Linked DNA regions of Homo sapiens: all the other regions are linked to region 3. Evidence: promoter capture Hi-C in 16 types of primary human blood cells and fetal thymus (Javierre and others, 2016). All regions are on one chromosome and are shown on one strand. The core of a region is centred on a gene start or on the middle of the fragment in contact, and the rest is flanking DNA. Distances in the headings are between cores, read along the strand shown. Region 1 overlaps TRIOBP (TRIO and F-actin binding protein). Region 2 holds the start of EIF3L (eukaryotic translation initiation factor 3 subunit L). Region 3 holds the start of SH3BP1 (SH3 domain binding protein 1).

Region 1 (4,136 bases), core at 970-3,469, 130 kb before region 3:
CTTGCTATTTCCCACATGCTTCCGCTGCCACTAGCCTGCAAGCCACACTGGGGGCGTCACAGTCTGTACTAAGGGAGACCTTGGATTTTCAGCCCCACCCTCAGAAGCCTAGAGGCCGCTGCTTTAGGAAGGGTGGGGTGTGGGTAGGGTGTGAGTGGGGAAGCCACTTCAAGAAACCCCAATCTCCATTCCTGTTCTGCCAGCCATCTAGGACACCAGAGCTGCTGGAACGTTTTATTAAGTTAAGAGGTTCAGGGAGCAGAAGAGAAACACCTTTTGGGTGGCTCTGGCGGTTCTGCACCCAGCACAGCCTCGAAGGAGGCTGTGGGGCCATGGAGGCCAGCTGCTAGCTCCCTCTGTCCTGAGCCCCATGGTACGGGTCCAAATGGGGCAGGAAGTGTTAGTAGGAGGTAGGGCAGGAAGAGGGTGGCAGGCTCCCGCCTCTCCCCTGTAGAGACACCCCGCCATGGCTGCTGCCTGGGCCTCCGCCAGACCTCTGGGCCAGGGCCACCAGCTCAGAAGCCCAAGCAGAGGGTGGCTGGAGACAGAGGGGGACCAGGGTTGGAGGCACACAGCCACCAGGAATTGCTTTTTTTTTTTTTTTTTAAAGTATAAAGTGTTTTGGAAAAAAAGGAAAAAAATCTATATAAAAATCTCTTCACATATAAAATCCTGAAGAAGGTGCAAGGTGAGACCCAGTGCGAGGGGCGCGCTCAGATATGCAGTGTGTGTGTGTGTGTGTGTATCCGTGTGTACATGTGTGCACGTGTGTGCGTATGTGTCTGTGTGTCTGTGTGTGTGTGTGTGTGTGTGTGTGTGTGTGTGGTGGGTGCAAGTGCACGTGTGGCCCACAGAGGGTGGGGAGAAAGCTTGGCTTTTTACTTCCATCCAGGAGGGAAGGAGGGCGGCTGGTCCTCCAGCCTGGAGGGTCTGCAGCTGGGCGGGACCTGAAAGACAAGGTGCGGCAGGGCTGAGGCCTGGGCTGAGGGGCTGCGAGGCCACCCCAAGGCCAAGCAAGGGTGCTGAGTGGGTCCTTCCACCACCTCTCAGCCCCTAAGGTACAGCCAGATCCGCTCTTCCTGGCTCCTTCCCAAGCAGCTCAGCCATAGGGTGGCCTCTCCTGCATGCCATAGGAAGTCCATGAGGACTTATCAGAAAGAGGATGCTCCAGGTAGATGTGGCGTTGAAAAAGCAAAAATAAGAACACTTTGGCCAGGTGCAGCGGCTCACACCTGTAATCTCAGAATTTTGGGAGGCTGAGGCAGGTGTATTGCTTGAGCCCAGGAGTTCGAGACCAGCCTGGGAAATCACGGCGAAACCCCACCTATACAAAAAGTGCAAAAATTATCTGGGCATGGTGGTGAGGGCCTGTGGTCCCAGCTACTCAGAAGGCTGAGGTGGGAGGATCCCTTGAGCCTAGGAGGTTGAGGCTGCAGTGAGCCGTGATTGCACCACTGCACTCCAGCCTGGGTGTCAGAGTAAGACCTTTCTCAAAGCAACCAAAACCAACCAACCAACCAACCAACCAACCAACCAACCAACCAACCAACCACTTTGAGCCCTGCTAAGTCAAGAAGGAGTGTTAAGACTAACTGGGATAGAAGCCCGGCCTCAGCGTGCGATGTGTGTGTGTGAAGCTCAGTGGAGATTCACTGTGGGGGTCAGGGATGTGCACGCTGCATTTGCCTCCAGCCCCAAGAAGGGGGGTGCACTGAGTAGGCTGTGGCTCTGCACTGTGCCGCCCAGCTCTGGAGGAACAGGCTTAAGCTGATGAAGCAGCCTGTGGCCCGGGTCTGATGGGATCTCTGCAACAACCCCGTGTTGCTGGTTTCATTGTCCTTTTTACAGAACGGGAATTGGAGGCCAGAAGAAGGAAGTGGCCTGGCTGGGGTGGTCCAGGGAGTCCCGGGTGTGGGAGAGCCTCAGCCCCTGCCCACCCTGCAGGGCACACGCCTCGGCATCCACCTCTACTCAGCCAGGCTGTTGCGCATCGACTCCTTCTCCTGGAGGGCGGCCATGGCAAGACGCAGGTGCTCCTTCAGCTGCTCGATCTCCCGCTCAGACCGTGTCTTGATGTGGCTCAGCTCCACATAGACGTCCTGGTACTTTCCCGAGGTGAAGCGCTTGTCCTGGGGGGCAGGAGGCAGGTATGAGGGCATGAAGTCTCTCCCTCCAGCCCTGCCAACCGGGCACATGGGCAGCACCAGCAGCCAGACCTCCCCGCAGATACCTCGCTTCATCCCTCCAGGTGGCTCCCCAAGATGGCCGTGGGTTCTGGGCTTACCCCTCCCACCTCCCTGGTACCACCCAGGGACACAGGCGTCATTGTCATCCTCATCCTGTTTCGGGGGAGAAGATTTTGACCAAGACCGCAGGGCAGTGAGTGGCTGGGATGAGAACCAGGTCAGCCTGGCTGGGTGCTCGGGCCCTTCCTGTGAGTTCACGCCACCTGTTCTTCAAGTGCGGTAAACACGGTCTGGCTCACGTGCACTTACAGAGCCACCAACATGTCCACTTCCTGCCCCAAACTGACAGAGCGCACCAGGCAGTGACATAGCAGCCAAGGGTGGGCCAGGCGGGCTGCAGACTCAGACCTGGGCTGAACCCTGACCCACCCAACTCCTAGCAACGTGGTTATTCTCACTGGAGTGCAAGCTCCCCACAGCAGAGATTTGGGGTTATTTTGTTCACATCTGTCTTCCCAGCACCTAGCACAGTGCCCAGGATATAGTAGGTGCTCAATAATAATCAATAAATTAAATAATGCTAAATAAACAGAAGCCAAGTACAGCCTTGGGGAAGTCACTTCCCCTTTCTTAGTCTCAGTTTCCCTGTCAGTGAATGGGGATGATGACACCTACATGGGAGAAGCACAGGAGAGCCTGAGGAAGGATGAAGCGAGTGGAGGGCTTGGCACAGAGCAGGTGCTCACAGGATGGCATCCAGATGGCTCCAGAGTCCCCGACGGCCCCCAGCCCAGCGGAAGGACCTACCTTCTGCATCATCTGGAGCTCGTCCCGGAGGCACTGCACCTCCTTCTTTAGGTACTGGAGTTCGTTTTCTTTTACGCGAAGCAGCACCTGGGGATATAGGTGCTGGACTGACCCAGGGCCAGAAGCCAGAGCTACCCTGGCCCATAGTGCCCTGCAGCCCGGGTTCTCTCTGCCTCAGGCCCCTAGAATGCAGCCCCTATCTGCACAAAAACCCTCTACATCCTGGAGGCGGACTCCTCCAGGAAGCCCTCTCCGATTCCCCTGCTTTGCCTTCCCTTACTCTCACCCCTGTCCAGCCCGTGTGAGTGGATATCTCACGGTCAAGTCTGCTGCAGCCCTCATGCAGCACCAGGCTCTCACCTCGGGAGTGAGATGGATGAAAAGAAGCCCTACATAAACCTGAGCAGGCTGAACCACTCCACAAGGCACCTCATTAACCCCTCCCCAACCCCGAGGGCTAGGTGCTGCTGACTTGACCAAGGAGGAAACAAGTTCAGCCAGGACTGGGGAGGCTTAAAAGCTCAGACTGGAGCCAGACTGCCTGGTTCAAATCCCAGTCCAGCTATAAAAGCTTTGGTAAGGTACTTGACCTTCCTGTGCCTCAGTTTCCTCATCTGTAAATGGGGACAGTCATAGTAGCTAATGTATGGAGCTGTCAGGAAGATTAGATGAGTTAACAGACAAAAAGGGCTTCCAGAATTTCTAGGTACAGAGTGAGCCTCACCTAAGTGTTTGTTGAAGAAATAAAATATTGGGGCCAGGAGCGGTGGCTCACGCCTGTAATCCCAGCACTTTGGGAGGCAGAGGCGGGCGGATCACGAGGTCAGGAGATTGGGACCATCCCGGCTAACATGGTGAAACCCCGTCTCTACTAAAAATACAAAAAATTAGCCAGGTGTGGTGGCGGGTGCCTGTAGTCCCAGCTACTCGGGAGGCTGAGGCAGGAGAATGGCATGAACCCGAGAGGCGGAGCTTGCAGTGAGCCGAGATGGTGCCACTGCACTCCAGCCTGGGTGACAGAGTGACTCCGTCTCAAAAAAAAAAAGAGAAATAAAATATCGGCTGGGCACGGTGGCTCACGCCTGTAATCCCAACACTTTGAGAGGCCGAAGTGGGCGGATCACCTGAGGTTGGGAGTTCGAG
Region 2 (4,200 bases), core at 1,407-3,906, 210 kb before region 3:
CCTAGCACTCTGGGAGGCCAACGGGGGTACATCACTTGAGGTCAGAAGTTCAAGACCAGCCTGGCCAACATGATGAAACCCCGTCTCTACTAAAAATACAAAAATTAGGCCAGGCATGGTGGCTCCCACCTGTAATCCCAGTGCTTTGGGAGGCTGAGGCGGGTGGATCACTTGAGGTCAGGGGTTCAACACACGCCTGGCCAACATGGTGAAATTCTGTCTCTACTAAAAATACAAAAAAATTAACTAGGCATGGTGGCACATGCCTGTAGTCCCAGCTACTCGGGAAGCTGAGGCTGGAGAATCACTTGAACCCAGGAGGCGGAGGTTGCAGTGAGCCGAGATCTTGCCACTGCACTCCAGCCTGGGCGACAGAGTGACACTCCGTTTCAAAAAATAAACAAATGCATAAATAAAATAAAGTCTAACAAAATAAAATGTCCCTAGCCTCAAGGACTCACAAAGACCCCCACCCCCCAACCCCCCCGAAAGTACTGTTTACAGAGTGCTCACCTCATTTGTAGGAACTATATTACCAGGCCAGTCCCACCCAGAAAGAGGCCCTTTCAGCCAGTAGCCCATACCTGTTCTCATAGATGTCCTGGATCTCATACACCTTCTGGTCAATGACATCACTGGAGACACGACTGGCCTGTAGCTCATACACTTTCTGGTCAATCAAATCTGAGACAGTTTTGTGGAAATACTGGATGAAGTTTTTGATCACCTCAGGGATCACCTGATAGGTTTGCTGTTCATACTGACGTTCATAAGCAAGGTCCTGCTTTGGATCTCCTGGAGGTTGGATACAACAAATACAGAGTATGCTCAAACCCACATATATGATAGAACGAAATGGCAAGACCACCCCAGAAACTAAACTCAGGTCTGCGTAAAATTCCCTTTTGAATACTCAGAGATACAAACATCTCAAGTCACTCCCAATCTCGTTGTCCCTGTTTCTTCAAAAATATTACCATGACTTAAAGTTATTTTTCACTTATTATCTGTTTTGCACCCTTCTCCCAAGTCTAGGAAGTCAGGAATCTCGTCTGTCTTGTACTCAGACATACCCTCAGGGCCTAGAAAAGTGTGCGTTGGAGGGGAGAGAGGCAAGACTGTTGGAAAGTAAGTGGTAACAGGTACTTAATATTTCTTGAATGAATAACTGTCACCTTTTAAATATATGACTGTGCCAAGTTACTACTAATAAACCTCTCTGCTATATTTTCTATTCTTTAGGAGACATTAACATACAGAACTGCTGTAAGGATTAAACAAAATATTTCATACAAAGTACTTAGAACAATGGATAACACTGACTACTAAGTCAAGTCACTATAACGTTTCAGGAAACCTCAGACACCTCCTAAAAAGATTTCATTCGGGCTTGGTTTGAATTACTTAAATTTTTCACATCAAGATTTTCTTCCTTGGGGCAGGCGCGGTGGCTCACGCCTGTAATCCCAGCACTTTGGGAGGTTGGGGCGGGTGGATCACCTGAGGTCAGGAGTTCAAGACCAGCCTGGACAACACGGCGAAACCTCGTCTCTATTAAAAAAATTTAAAAATTAGCTGGGAATGGTGGTGGGCGCCTGTAATCCCAGCTACTCAGGAGGCTGAGACAAGAGAACTACTGCTTGAACGAGGGACGCGGAGGTTGCAGTGAGCCGAGATCGCACCACTGCACTCCAGCCTGGGGGACAGAGGGAAACTCCATCTCAAAAACAAAAACAAAAACAAAAACAAAAAAGCTTTTCTTATTTGGCTAATAGTTTACACAAGAAAACCATAGCCAGGTAAGTAATCCTTCTCTTCCAAGACTGAGGTGGACTATGATAAAAAGCCTGGTTTATTAGGCTTTATAAAACCCCTCGCACTGGCAGCTAATGACTGACTCCAAACCTGGACCATCAAAGAGCAATTTTTGATGCCTGTCAGAGCTGGTTCTAAGACATTCCAAAGGAACTGATCCCTACGAGTACTCAGCCAGCCTAACCCGTGGTCTCACCTGTGTGCATATCATAGTCGCTGGGATAAGCGTAGGGGTCATAAGCCGCCTAGAAGGAAAGAGACACAGTCAAGGACAGCCGCCAAGTCGTGAATTCAAAACGCTCATCCTAGAGTCTAGATGCCAAGCAGAGAGCTAAGGATACAGAGGCGAATAAGACACTGTGCCTGCCTTTGAGGAACTCACACGCCTTAGAGAAAAGGGACAGTAAACAGACAATGACAATACAACATTACGGGTGCAATGAGGTGGAGCAAAGGACAAGAGGCTGTGGGAATCAGCGAGATTTGACCAGACGGAGCCTAGACCAAAAAAACTCAGGTGCAGAAACACAGAAACGTCTAACAGGCCTTAGTCTCCGGTCTTAGAAAGGGGAAGGACAAGCCAATCGAACACGCGAAGTGGGCGGGCAGAGCCAGGGTTGTCTAGGGACCGGGAACTGTGGGAGCAGCCTGAGGGCCGGGCGGGAGGTCGGCCGGAGCTGGCCGCGACCCGGAAGCTGCCTCGCGCCGGGACCCACATCCAGTGGTCCCAGAGATCACCCCGTCGTGGAGCCCACCGCGCCCTTACGGCCACCTTACCTCAGACTCATAATCATCAGCGGGATAAGACATGGCTGCCTCGCTTGCGAGCACCGCCGGAAAGAGCGAAATGAGCGGCCCGCGCCTGCGTCCTGAGGCCGGAAGTTCAGCCCCACTCGGGCCTGCCGGGAAACCGGAAGCCTTTCCGAGGCCTCTGGCCATCTGAGACAGCCATATCCAGAAGGAAGAGGAGCCGCGTTCCGTGGCTCACACCTGTAACCCCACCAGTTTGGGAGGCCGAGGCGGGCGGATCACCTGAGGCTGAGGCCGGGGGTTTGAGACCAGCCTGACCAATATGGAGAAACCCCGTCTCTACTAAAAATACAAAATTAGCCGGGAGTGGTGGCGCATGCCTGTAATTCCAGCTACTCGGGAGGCTGAGGCAGGAGAGTCGCTTGAACCCGGGAGGCGGAGGTTGCGGTGAGCCGAGATCGCGCCATTGCACTCTAGCCTGGGCAACAAGAGGGAAAACTCCGTCTAAAAAGAATAAGAGGGTTACAAGTAGCCTGAATTTTCCTCTCTTCAAATAGGGACTTCTCAAAGAAGGTGAATCTATAATAGTGGTGTAGATTCAGATATAAGGACACGTATTTGGCGTAAAGGAGAGGCAAAGTTAGAGGAACCAGAAAGAATGCTACACAAAAGATGGCCGGCTTCTCGCGTGAAGGAAGATTCGGATACGGGGGCCTGATGGATTTAGTTGTAGGCGGTTTGCCTGCAGCGAGTAAATTATTCAAACGTTCGGACTTCACAAGACTAAACTTACTGGGGATAAAAATTGAGATTTGGCCGGGCGCGATGGCTCACGCCTGTAATCCCTACACTTTGGGAGGCCGAGGCGGGTGGATGATCTGAGATCAGGAGTTCGAGACCAGCCTGGCCGAAATGGCGAAACCCCGTCTCTATTAAAAATACAAAAATTAGCCGGGAGTGGTAGCGTCCGCCTGTAATCCCAGCTACTCAGGAGGCTGAAGCAGGAGAATCGGTGGAACCTGAGAGGCAGAGGCTGTAGTGAGCCGAGATCGCGCCACTGCACTCCAGCCTGGGCGACAGAGCAAGACTCCGTCTAAAAAAAAAAAGAAAAAAAAAAATTGAGATTTGGTCCCATGCAGTAAGAGGGAATGGAGAACAGGAGCCACCCAACTTTGGACATTAAAGTTGGAGCAGGCAAAGATGAGGCCAGCTGTGTCGCGAAGCCTGGGACATGGGCAGCTCTTGAGTACACCGGGTTCGAGGCCAGGGGAAACCCTCAAGGTAGAGATGGGGTTATAAAGCAAACCAATAAAAACCGGTGTATGAGTCAAGGAGAGGCCTTAGTTTAGCCATCTGCCCATACACAACACCTAGTGGAAATCCGAGTTCCAGTCCCTACTCCGCCACTGATTTGCTGTGTGACCAGGACTCTCTGGGTCCCTTTGTCACGCCGCCCTCCTTGCTTTTCCCACTGAGGCACGCTCCACCTCTGGGATTTTGCACTCACTGTTATCCAAGTCTAGAATCGAATGCAGTGGCACCCCCACTCCCATTCCCTTCCCCATCGGTATCTGCATGGCACCTTCAGGTGTCTGCTCTGATGCCATCCACTCAACATCCTATTGAGAATTGCAA
Region 3 (4,093 bases), core at 1,594-4,093:
GTGTCCGTGCCTCCCTCCACCCTGCCTGAGCACCAGGCCAGCCCCTTGGGGCAGGGGAGGAGGGAACCCAGGAGGGCCACAGTCCCAGATGAGAGTGGAAACAAGATGACAAGGCGTGGTGGGGGTGACATTTCCCTGAGAGCATGGATGGAGCCCCTCTCCATCTGGCGTGCCCTTTCCTCTTCCCAGAAGCCACTTGACTGGGCAGGAAGGAATGACCAAGTCCTACTGCAGACTGGGAAACTAAGATGCAGGGAGGGCAGGGAGCTTGCCCCAGGTCACACAGGTGGAGGGAGAATGGGAGCGGGAGCTCTTTCCCCTGTCCCAGGGTATATATGGCTGACCTAGCCACCGCTGAGTTCAAACGCTCTATGGCTCCCAATTTCCTTGCCTTGGCCACACTGAATTGTCAACTGATTCCAAAACATGGCCCCACACTCCCACCCCATCTGGAGTTACGGGGAATGCCTGCTCTGGGATCAGAGACCAGGGTTCAAACCTCAGTTCTGCCACTTACTAGCTATGTGACCTTGGACAAGTGACTTTATCTCTGAGCCTCCAGTTCCTCATGTGTAAAGCAATGCCTGCCCCTAGGGTTGTGCCAGTGTTCCATGAGACAGTGCACTCATATGTTAGTAACAAGCTGGCGGTTATCAGCCAATAAACGCTGCCTCTTGATTAATAAACGTGTATCCCTCAAAAGCCAGCTCAATTGCTACCTCCTTCAGGAAACCCTCTGAGGCCGCCCCATTGACAGCCTGCTCTTGCGCACTGATTGGACAGAGAAGTTCAGGTGCTGTCAGAAGCCTGGCCTTGGCTTATGGGAACTGGTGCACAGGGAAGTGGGGTAAAGGTGATGGGGAAGGTATAGGGCCTCTTGAGTGCAGTGCCAGAGGGGCCTTGGAACAGAGCAGTCTCCATGCCCTTGGTGCCAGACACTCAGACTGGCAAGGAAACCCCAGCCCCGACCTTGCTTCCCCATTGGATGGAAGTCTCCTGCTCAGGCCCCTCCTTCCCGGGACCCCCCACTCACCACCCGCTTGTCCATGTCTGCCCCGCTCTGGCCCTGCAGACAGGCCTGCAGCCGCTTGTGGATGTTGTGGGCTGCCCGCTTGGCCGGCTCCAGCCGCTGTTCTACCTGGGAAGGAGGTATGGAGGTTAAGGATCAAGAGAGGCTGTCTCCCCCTGAGCAGGAAACTTTCTCCTGTCCCCTGGGGACCCCATGGCCAACAGCTTGAGGAATGACTCAACCCAGGCCCCTACCTGGCGTCCCCGCCCCGGCCCTCTGCTCCGAGACAGCCTGCACAGGCCTGCCTTCCCACCTGCCCGGCCCAGGCACGTACCTGCAGCAGGTCCTCACCCAGGAACTCAGCGGTCTCCGGGGTGCTGCGGGGAGTGGTGGGGGGGGGGGGGAGAGTGCTTCTGCTGAGCCTGCCTGGGTTAGAACGCCCCCTACTTCCCTTCCCCGCAGCAGGGCACCTGGACCCCAGTGCTTCCACTGTCCCTCCCAGCTGAGGCCTGCCCTGGGTGGCCCAGTTGCTTCATCCCAGTCGGAGCACATTCCATGGGGGTGGGAATAGGATACATGGGTTTTTCCTCCTCCACCCAGGGCTGTGTCCTGAGAGAGGGCGGACAGATGAAACTAAAGGGGAGGCTGAGAGACCCACCCGGGGCCCAGCTTTGGGACACAGAAGCCTCTTTTCTGCCCACTCCCAAATCCTCAGCCCACCCCGGGATGAGGAGTATTAGCTGGCCCCAAGAACGGGAAGTGCAGGAGCTCAGACTCCTAGGCACAGTCACACAGCACTCTGGACTACAGCTGTGGGCAGGGGTGCACAGGCCCTTGGCCCCCACCTGGGGACACATGGGGGATGCCAAGGCCCACTGCAAGGTGGTCTGACTGTCCAGGCTATGTAGGCATCTGTGCCAGTGTGAGACTAGAACCAGGTCTCTGGACACCCAGTCCCCTCCCTGGACCCAGAGAATGGGGAACTCCTGAGGCTGGGGGAAGAGGAGCAGAGAAGACAGGCTCTGAGAGGCTCCCCAAACTTCCGGCCTCCGTGCCACCGGCTCAGAGGCTGGGGGTGGGAGCTGGGAGACCTGGGGATATTTCCACCTGAGTCCAGGAAAAGCAGAAACGAGACAGAAGCAGGAGGCCCCTGGGCTGGGGGGAGGGGGAGGGGGAGGGACGCTGCAGGCCAGGGGCAGGCCCCTCCTCCCACCAGGCCAGGACCCATCTCCTCCCCTCGCCCCAGGTCTGTGGCCCTAATCGACCCTCCTCCCTCCCCGGCCCAGCAAGCAGAGGTGGTGAACTGTCCCATTGTCCAGAGGGGACAAGTGAGGTCAGGAGGACCATCCACTTAGAGACTCGTGGAGGCAGAGAAGTCCCAGCGTCCTAGGGCAGAGAGCATTCTCCCGCCTGAAGCCCCCTCCAATCCGGTAAGGGGGGGCATCCCTTCCCCCAAAGGCCACCCTTGCTCCTCCAGCTCTGCCCGAGAGACGGGGGCGGCGTTCAGAGAGGAGGAAGAGAGAGCAGGAGTCTGGCCGCTCAGAGGGTGGCTGCCCAGCTGTCCCCAGCCTCCCCCACCCCCGTCTCCCCCGACCCTTTTACGACCCCTCAAGTCCTGCCGGGGTAAGAGTGGGGCTGGAAGCGGGTGACACTCACCGTCCCAAGCTGCCCGTCTGGGCCAGCTGCCGCATGCGGTGCAGCTGCCTCTTCATCATCTTGGGGGCGAGCTGGGGGCTGCGGGGTCACGGCGGGGGTCGCGGGCCCGGGGAGCCCCCGGTCCAGCCTGCCTCTCCTGCGGCGCGGCTCTTGCCCCGGATGGGTGGGCGGCGCTCTCGCTTCCTGGGCCGCCGCGCGGCTCTTGCTGGCGGCCGGCTCTCTCCTCCCCCGCTCACGACTCCGCCCCCGGCCCCCAGGTCACTCCTCTCTCCAAGTTGGTTTCCTCGCTCTTCCCCGGCTTCCGGGCCCCCGGGCGACCCCCGGCCGGGCCCCCGCTGCTGTGTGTCCGCCGGCCGCGGCCGTCCACAGGTTGTGCCCGGCTCCTCCTCCCCGCAGCGCCCCGCCCAGCCCCGGTGGCGGGAAGCAGGTAAGCCCATTCCTGCCCCTGCGCCCGCAACCCGCCCCAGGCGGGGTGCCTGCCCCACCCGCAGCCTGCAGACCCGAAGTATAAATAACCTTTGCATCCCTCGCAAAGAGGAAAGGGTACCAAGCGAAAGAGGGGTAGGCCTTTCTGACCTGTCCTGGCCTCTCTGGGCCTGCCGCGGATACTGCCTTGCACTCTCTTCCGCAGAGGACCTCTGGCCCCCTGGAACTAAACCCCCCACCACTGGATGACTGGCTGGGAGCTTTGGCTTCCTGGGGCCACGGGCTGCTGTGTGGCCGTGGACAAGCCCCTGGAACTCCGGACTCGCTGTTTCTAATGGTCTGATGGGCCAGCTGTCCTGGGCCTGCCCATTCTGCAGAGTGGACAAGACACCCCTGCCAGCTCCCTTTAAGGGAGGTGCGTGCCACCCCTCAGCCACCAGGAACCCTCCCAGAGCGGTTCGCGACACCCTGTTCTCCACATCTCCTGGCAGTTTGCTCCATCTGTGAAGCCCGTCTCCTCTCATTCCTCCTGGCAAACAGCCTCAGTCCCCCTTCCTTCTTGTAGGGCAATGATGTAGGTGCTGCTCTGACTGCCCCCAAACTCAGTAGTTCTCCTCTTTGGCCCTCCACTCAACACAGAGTTAGGCATACAGTAAGTGCTCCATAACTGCTGGTTTTACAAGATGTGAGCGCCTTTAGGAAACAGTAGGCTCTCCTTACCCTGCACCCCTGTGGCATCAGGAGCCGCAGGCGTGGGGAAGAGGGGAGGGTGTGCCCCAGAGTCCTGCCACACCCTCTGCACTTTGCTTTGTTAGTTTCAGTTTAGTTTGAGACTATTTGAGCCACTACTGTGTGCCGGTGCAGACTGTGTGCCGGTGCAGACTGGGCGCCTCTCAGAGGCAGGACCTTGGCCCCACACATCTCCATACTCCCAGCACCTAGCCCAGGGCCTGGCACACTCACTGGCTGCTTCTCTCCTCCCTAATGAGGCAGGACTCATTG

Evidence for each region. The method cuts DNA at HindIII sites, captures the fragments that hold promoters and counts their contacts. A CHiCAGO score of 5 or more calls a contact.
Region 1: a contact is called between a fragment that was not itself captured here and the fragment with the promoter of SH3BP1 in region 3, in 2 of 17 cell types (M0 macrophages and endothelial precursors). The highest score is 5.8, in M0 macrophages.
Region 2: the fragment with the promoter of EIF3L here is called in contact with the fragment with the promoter of SH3BP1 in region 3 in 1 of 17 cell types (erythroblasts); the score reaches 6.7 in erythroblasts.

What each region holds. Positions count from the first base shown.
Region 1 is chr22:37,770,594-37,774,729 of GRCh38, reverse strand. TRIOBP (TRIO and F-actin binding protein) reads right to left here. Exons shown (of 24, transcript NM_001039141.3): 22 at 2,994-3,080; 23 at 1,966-2,129; 24 at 1-947. The coding sequence ends at 1,968. Among named protein-coding and RNA genes, the nearest start is that of H1-0, 33 kb to the left of the region's middle. The HindIII fragment of the contact is 2,695 bases long and covers 872-3,566 here.
Region 2 is chr22:37,847,875-37,852,074 of GRCh38, reverse strand. EIF3L (eukaryotic translation initiation factor 3 subunit L) reads right to left here and starts at 2,656. Exons shown (of 13, transcript NM_016091.4): 1 at 2,593-2,656; 2 at 2,012-2,060; 3 at 585-795. The coding sequence starts at 2,625. It also overlaps a transcript of ANKRD54 not described here. RefSeq lists enhancers at 1,970-2,491, 2,492-3,014, 3,015-3,537. The HindIII fragment of the contact is 2,543 bases long and covers 1,757-4,200 here.
Region 3 is chr22:37,638,419-37,642,511 of GRCh38, reverse strand. SH3BP1 (SH3 domain binding protein 1) reads right to left here and starts at 2,843. Exons shown (of 18, transcript NM_018957.6): 1 at 2,666-2,843; 2 at 1,344-1,386; 3 at 1,034-1,138. The coding sequence starts at 2,724. PDXP-DT (PDXP divergent transcript) reads left to right here. Exons shown (of 6, transcript NR_109952.1): 6 at 1-680. RefSeq lists silencers at 2,626-3,065, 3,096-3,245, 3,876-4,093. The HindIII fragment of the contact is 8,436 bases long and covers 1-4,093 here.